2 separate regions of the Homo sapiens genome follow, and region 2 is linked to region 1. The links are contacts of gene promoters, found by promoter capture Hi-C in human tissues and cell types (Jung and others, 2019). All regions are on one chromosome and are shown on one strand. Each heading gives the region's core, a stretch centred on a gene start or on the middle of the fragment in contact. The rest is flanking DNA. Distances are from core to core; before and after follow the strand shown. Region 1 holds the start of ZBTB21 (zinc finger and BTB domain containing 21). Region 2 holds the start of LOC124905031 (a long non-coding RNA gene).

The links. Contacts are between HindIII fragments. The study calls those that stand out against the background at their distance.
Region 2: a contact is called between a fragment that was not itself captured here and the fragment with the promoter of ZBTB21 in region 1, in 1 of the 25 tissues and cell types used here (dorsolateral prefrontal cortex).

What each region holds. Positions count from the first base shown.
Region 1 is chr21:42,009,110-42,012,612 of GRCh38, forward strand. It overlaps ZBTB21 (zinc finger and BTB domain containing 21), which reads right to left and starts at 1,251. Exons shown (of 3, transcript NM_001098402.2): 1 at 1,143-1,251. ZNF295-AS1 (ZNF295 antisense RNA 1) reads left to right here and starts at 85. Exons shown (of 2, transcript NR_119384.1): 1 at 85-475. RefSeq lists silencers at 424-533, 574-883, 1,324-2,063. The HindIII fragment of the contact is 7,901 bases long and covers 1-3,503 here.
Region 2 is chr21:43,709,673-43,713,175 of GRCh38, forward strand. LOC124905031 (a long non-coding RNA gene) reads right to left here and starts at 2,603. Exons shown (of 2, transcript XR_007067895.1): 1 at 1,683-2,603; 2 at 1,044-1,366. RefSeq lists enhancers at 1,469-2,350, 2,416-3,037. The HindIII fragment of the contact is 7,963 bases long and covers 1-3,503 here.

The DNA.
Region 1 (3,503 bases), core at 1-2,500:
CAGGGCTGTGAGCGCTTGCACGAAAGGAAAAACCCCAGGCCGTGTGAAGTCTAACTTTCCCCGTCCTCTCGGTCAGGCAATCCCACCGGGGCACCTGTCTAAAAACACCCCGCCTCCGAACGCGCGCTCTTGCGGAATTCTCCCGAACCGCAGAGCCCTCGTGGCTGGGACCGCATAGCAACCGGGGGCAGAGTGCGAGCCCCCAGCGGTGTGCTGGGATGGAAAAGCAGGAGCCGCTGAGGATGGACTACGGGGCGTGTTCCCGAAAAGCCGGGAAGAGATGTGGCGGGGCTGCCGCGGGCGTCTCTAAGGCCGGCACGGGTGGCGTCTTGACTCCCTGCCCCTCCAGCCGCGGACCTCGGACGGGGGGAAGGGGGCTCCTCCAAGCGGGGAGACGGTCGCCGGCCGAGCAGCAGGGCTCCTGGCCGGCGGAGGGTGCTATGCTCTGCGGGACCGCCGGGAAGTCCCAGACAAGGTCTGCGGGGGCTCTGGAGGAAAAAAAACGCGCTGTGAGGTCCAGGCGTCCGCGGGAGGGGCCGGGGGCGGGGAGGGAGCGTCCAGCGGGCACCGAGCGGTCACGCTCCGGCCACCGGGCCGAGGACGGGGCGGCGGGGCTAGGTCCCGGACCGTGAAGGGAGCGGCGGGTCGCGGCAGGTGCGGGGTCCCCAAGGCCGCCGGCCAGCTTCCGCGCACACCCCGCGGCCCGGGCCGCCGGCCCCCAACCCCTGCCCGGAACAGGAGAACGCGCCCTTCTCCACGAGGCGTTTCAACCGCTCCGCGCGAGGGGCGCGCGCCTGGGCCAGGCGTGTCCCCTACCCCAGGGGCAGCTCGGCCAGGGTGAAGAGTGAAGCCCGTGAGGGAATGGAGCATGCGCATTCGCGAGGGCGAGGCCAAGTGCTGGCAGGGAGCGTGCGCAGTGTGAAGGTACAATCGGCTACGTGGGAACCCGGGACATGCTCGGTGAGCGCCCAGGTCCCGCGCACGCGCAGAAGCGCTCGGAGCCCGCAACCCGCTGGTGGAGAAAAAAGAGGAGAGAAATCACCTCAGAGTTACGTCAGGAAAGGCCGCGTTTTGCGGGGAGGCTGTAGCCTCCCAAGGAGCCCCGCAGTTCTCCTAGAGCTAGGGGCGTGACAGTTACTCACCGGTCTTCAGTCTCGAGGCAGACGCCGGGCCCCTTTCCGCTCACACTCGGCTCGCGCGCGCCGCAGCCGCCGCTGCCGCTGTGATTCCATCCATCTTGAATTTGACGTCATCCCACACCAGGGATGAGGTCATCGCAGGCATCGCTCGTCACGTGCGCGGCACTCTGATTGGGCGCCGGGCGCCGGAGGGCGGGGCGGGGGGGGGGCCTCGCGGCGCAGGGGGACGGGGGAGGGCGGGCCTGCCCGGAGCCGCGCGCCGAACGGACGCTGCCGCGCTGCAAGCCCGCGCTCTCGGTCCATGAGGGGAGCCTGCGGCGGCCGTTAGGGGAGGCGGCCGGGCTGGGGGCCACGGCGAGGAGGCTGAGCGCCCCGGCCGGGTGGAGTCCGTCGCGGCGAGGAGCGCGCCGATTCTCAGGGGACTTTGCCGCCTGCCGGAGGCGCCCTTGCTGCGGGGTCGCCCCGGGTCATTCGGCCGCGGTCCTGCCCAGCTGGGCCGCCAGTAGTCCCCGCTTCCGGCGCGGCGGGATGCGTGGCGCGAGCGCTTAGTCCCTCGGAGGGGAGGACGCGCTCCCGTTCACCGGTGGACGGCGGGCGACTCCCCGAGCCGACGACCCCGACAGCGACGGGAGCGACGCGCGGCTTTCTGACGGGCGCGGGCGGCGAGCGGGGCCCTGCGGTCCTCGGGTCGGCGGCAGACGCTCCCGGCCCGCGAGGAAAGCCCGCGGGAGGCGGCTCCTGCCGCTCGCTAGTCGCTCAGAGCGCTTCCATTTCCTCCTCCCGACGCAACCTGGCCACCTGGCCCCTGGGCGGGGACCCGGCGGCCGCGGCCAGGGCGTCCGGGCTCGTTCGCCGCGCAGATGGGGGTCGGTCCTGACCCCCGCCGGGGCGTCCACAGCGGCCCGCAGGCAGCCGGAGACTTCGCATAGTGCCCGGCTCATCGGAGGGCTGTGATCTTTTTTTTTTTTGCAGAAATATTACAACTCCACTGATGAGAAAACTCACTTCGCTTTCAGTCAAAACCAGAAATTAGATAACAGAAATGCCACACTGTCAACACCGACCGGGAGGAAAGCCTCGCTGGCGGAGACCGCTCAAGGGAGCCCTCCGCGCGTTCTCCCAGCCCGGGTCGCAGGTGGAGGGGGAGTGCCTCCTGCAGGGACGGTTCTCCCGCAGACACTCAAACTCCGGGATGTAAAACCCCTGTTAATAATTGTCAGGGGTCTGTTAATTGCCAAATACAGTTTTTGAAAGTTGTATGCACTAGGTAAAATAATTTATGTAATGTTTGGAAGTATGTGAAAGACAGACATTAGATTGATACAAATTAAAAATTTGTTGCCAAATTAACAGCTCTGTTGTAGATTATTAGTTTGACTAATTTTAAGAGGACTCTTAGTCTTACATAAAGAATCTTGCACCTAAAAATTTTCTCCTACAACTTTAAAACACTTTAAATTTTTTTTTTTTTTTCCTGAGATGGAGTCTCTGTCAGTCCCAGGCTGGAGTGCAGTGGCATGATCTCAGCTCACTGCAGCCTCCACTCCCTGGCTCAAGCCATCCTCCCGTCTCAGCCTCGGCAGTAGCTGGGACTATAGGTGCATCCGTCACACCTAGCTGATTTTTGTATTTTTGGTAGAGATGGAGTTTCACCATGTTGCTCAGGCTGGTTTCAAACTCCTGGTCTGAAGCAATCCACCCGCCTCAGCCTCCCAATGTGCTTGGATAACAGGTGTGAGCCACCATGCCCAGCCTAAAGAGTGTCTGTATTTTGAACTGTATGGTGGAAAAGCACAAAGTGACTGTTCTGAAGGTAGAAGGCAACAGTGATTATAAGTCTTAAAAGAACCTTGAGTTTTAGGTTCCCCTGTGATTAGGCTGGGGGAGTGTGTGCTGTTATCCTAGTTTTATAGGTGAGAAAACTAGTACTGGCTTTACCGCATGCTGGAAGCAGCCTCCCTTGAGCGATCCCTTTCTAGCCACCTGCTTAGCTGTTTTTTTGTTTTGTTTTGTTTTTTGTTTTTTCAACCTTCCTCAGGACGATACACATTGGTGTCTCTGCTTTGAGCTATATGATCAGGCTTTTGGCCTCACCATTTCACTGGAATTGACCTGACTGCCAAATCTGGCAGAAACCGTTGCATCTTTCAGTTGCTCTCTTTGATTTGTGACACGCTTCCAATTGCTTCAGCAGTGATTGCTTCAGTTACGCCTCATTCCCTGGATTTCCCACCTCTTGGCTGACTGCTCCTCCTGGGCCGGCTGTGTTGGCCCTTCTGCCCCTGCCCATGCTCGCACTGGGTTTCTTGGCACACACACCCTATGCAGTCTCATCCATGCTTGGAACATATGCCCAGTTGCTGG
Region 2 (3,503 bases), core at 327-2,826, 1.7 Mb after region 1:
CCACGCCCGGCCAAGATGTTTACTTTCTAAGAAACCACCAAAGTGCCTTCCAAAGTGGCTACACCATTACAGTGTTCCCACCAGCAATGAAGGAGAGTGCCATGTCCCGCCAGCACCCAGTGTTGTCAGTGTTCTGGACTTCAGCCATTGTAAGCAGTGCTTAGCGATGTTTCATTGTTTGAATTTGTACTTTTCTCATGGCATGGCGTTCAGAACTTTCCATATGTGTATTTGCCATTTGTATATCTTCTTTGGTGAGGTGTCTAGATCTTTTGCCTATTTTTTGGTTAGGTTGTTCCCTTATTGTTGAGTTTTAAGAATTCTTTCGCCAGTTGTGGTGGCTCACACCCGTAATCTGAGCACTTTGGGAGGCCGAGGCAGGCAGATCACTTGAGCTCAGGAGTTTGAGACCAGCTTGGGCGACATGGTGAGACCTCTTCTCTACAAAATAAAAAAAGAGTACAAAAATTAGCCCGGCATGGTGACACACGCCTGTAGTACCCGCTACTCAGGAGGCTAAGGCGGGAGGATCACTTTAGCCCAGGGGACAGAGGTTGCAGTGAGCTGATGTGTGCTACTGTACTGCACTCCAGCCTGGGTGGTAGAGCAAGACCCTATTTAAAAAAAAAAAAAGGAAAAAAGGCTGGGCGCAGTGGCTCATGCCTGTAATCCCAGCACTTTGGGAGGCTGAGGCGGGCGGATTACTTGAGGTCAGGAGTTCGAGACCAGCCTGGCCAACATGATAAAACCCCATCTCTACTAAAAATACAAAAATTAGCCGGGTGTGGTGGCAGGCGCCTGTAATCCCAGCTACTCGGGAGGCCGAGGCAGGAGAATCACTTGAACCTGGGAAGTGGAGGTGTCAGTGGGCCAAGATCACGCCACTGCACTCCAGCCTGGGCAACAGCAAGACGAAAGAGAAAGAGAGAAAGGGAGAAACAGAGGAGAGAAAACAAAGGAAGGAAGGGAAAGAAAGAAAAGAGAGAAGGAAAGAAAGAGAGAGAGAAAGAAAGAGAGGAAAGAAAGAAAGAAATCCTTGTATATTTAGGACTCAAATCCTTTATTGATGTTTTGTACGATTTAAAGATTCCTTTGGTGGTGGGACGCAATACAGTGACACTCAGCTAGAGGAGAGGCAGAAGCCTGTGTATTGATGTTTTATAAGATCTAAAGATTCTTTTGGTGGTGGGACGCAATACAGTGACACTCAGCTAGAGGACAGGCAGAAGCCTGTGTGACTTACAGCTCTAACAAGAGGCCGCCGCCAGGCAGGGTCACACGGGGGATTGTGCCTCGGACGTCAGTGGACTGGACACAGCCCAGGAGAGAATCTGCAAGCTGAGGACATGTCCATAGACTTCCCCAACTGAAATGCAAGGAGAAAAAAGAGTAAAAATAACTGAACAGAATATCCTAGAACTACGGGACAATTATAGAAGGTAATTTACACACTCATAATGGCAATACCAGAAGAGGAGAGGGAGAAAGGGATAGAAGAAATATTTGAAGTAATAATGGCTTCTCATTTTTCAAAATTGGTGTCAGACACCAAACCACAGATCTAGGAAGCTTAGAGAACACTAAGTACAACAAATGCCAAAAAATAGGAACTTTGGCATGTCGTATTCAAACTGCAGGAAACCAGAGACAGAATATCTTGAAAGATGTCGGAGGGAAAGTACCTTCCTATAGAGGAACAAGAATACGGATCACACTGGACTTCCATCAAAAATCATGTGATCTGGGTACTGGAAGCTACATGTAAAGAAGAAATTCATGCTCACGCCTGTAATCCCAGCACTTTGGGAGGCCGAGGCGGGCGGATCACGAGGTCAGGAGATCGAGATCATCCTGGCTAACACGGTGAAACCCCATCTCTACTGAAAATACAAAAAAATTAGCCAGGCGTGGCAGTGGGTGCCTATAGTCTCAGCTACTCGGGAGGCTGAGGCAGGAGAATGGCGTGAACCCGGGAGGCGGAGCTTGCAGTGAGCCGAGATCGTACCACTGGCACTCCAGCCTGGGCGACAGAGACTCGGTCTCAAAAAACAAAACAAAACAAAAACCCAAAAGAAGAGGCACCTGAGCCGCTTGCTTGAGCCTGCTCCCACTCTGAAATGTCTTCAGTAAATCTGTGCTTTCCTTGCTTCTCCTGTTGCTTTCTCTTTCATGGCTTGGCTCTTTTGTTACTTTGTGCATTTTGTTAAAGCATCCCCCGCTAACTAAGACACCGCTCAGGGTCGGGCACAGTGGCTCACACCTATAATCCCAGCACTTTGAGAGGCCGAGGCAGGTGGGTCACCTGAGGTCGGGAGTTCAAGATCAGTCTGACCAACACGGAGACCCCATCTCTACCAAAAATACAAAAAAAAAATTAGCTGGGCGTGGTGGCACATGCCTATAATCCCGGCTACTCAGAAGGTTGAGGCAGGAGAATCACTTGAACCCGGGAGGCGAGGGTTGCGGTGAGCCGAGATCACGCCATTGCACTCCAGCCTCTGCCCAACAAGAGCGAAACTCCGTCTCAAAAAAAAAAAAAAAAAGAAAGAAAGAAAAAAAAAAGAGACACCGCTCAAACTTCTGGCCAAACACAAATCCTGAATGACTTTTAACATCCTTTATGGTAATTAAGGAACCCTGTGGTGCTGGGAGGCAGTTGCTCAAACAACCTCTGGGCATGGTCTGCTGGCAAGGGCATTTCATTTGCCGCCAGGGTGTGGACGGACATTTATTTACACAGTCATACCTGAGACAGAGTAGGGACGGGCTGGCTCGGTTAACCCCCCACTAGAGCATTCTCTCATGCCTTCCACGGATCACACACCCCACGCCACTACCTGGCTTGACACCAAACTCGCTAACCCTGAGACTTTGGTCATACAAGGAAAACAGCCGTTTATAGTGCTCTTCTGTGCTCTTGTAATATTTAACCAGGCCTTTTACTTAAAGAATTTCAGGAACTGGCCTTAAAAGATCCAGAATATCAACCAAGGTTGTAGAATGTCCCCACCTTGGAAAGGAATGCTGAGCAACAGATTTACAGCCTCGCTGCCCCAGCCAGCCAGCTAGCTGGCCCATGACTCAAAATAACCGTCGCAACCAGAAGTGCTGATCAGCCTGTCCCAGTCCTCGGAGGCCTTCCCCAGCCCAGCCTGCACACCCTACCCTGATATCAGTTTCCACCCTTTGCCTGACAAAAAGTCCTAACCAACTCCTTTCCAGGACTCAGTCAGGGACTCTCTCTCCCTTGGGCCGCCTCCCTTATGCCTGGACATAAGCTCCAATGAAGCCTTGTCTGGGAAAACTCTTTTGGCCCCATGTCAATTTCCATTGCATTGAGAGCCCAAGAACTCATGGTTGGTAACATATCCATTCCTGTGTCCAAATGGAAAGCCTTCTATTTTGTTTTGTATTTTATTTTATTTTTTGAGACAGGTTCTTGCTCTGTTACCCAGGCTGGAGTACAATGGCACAATGATGGCTCACTGCAGCCTCAATCTTCT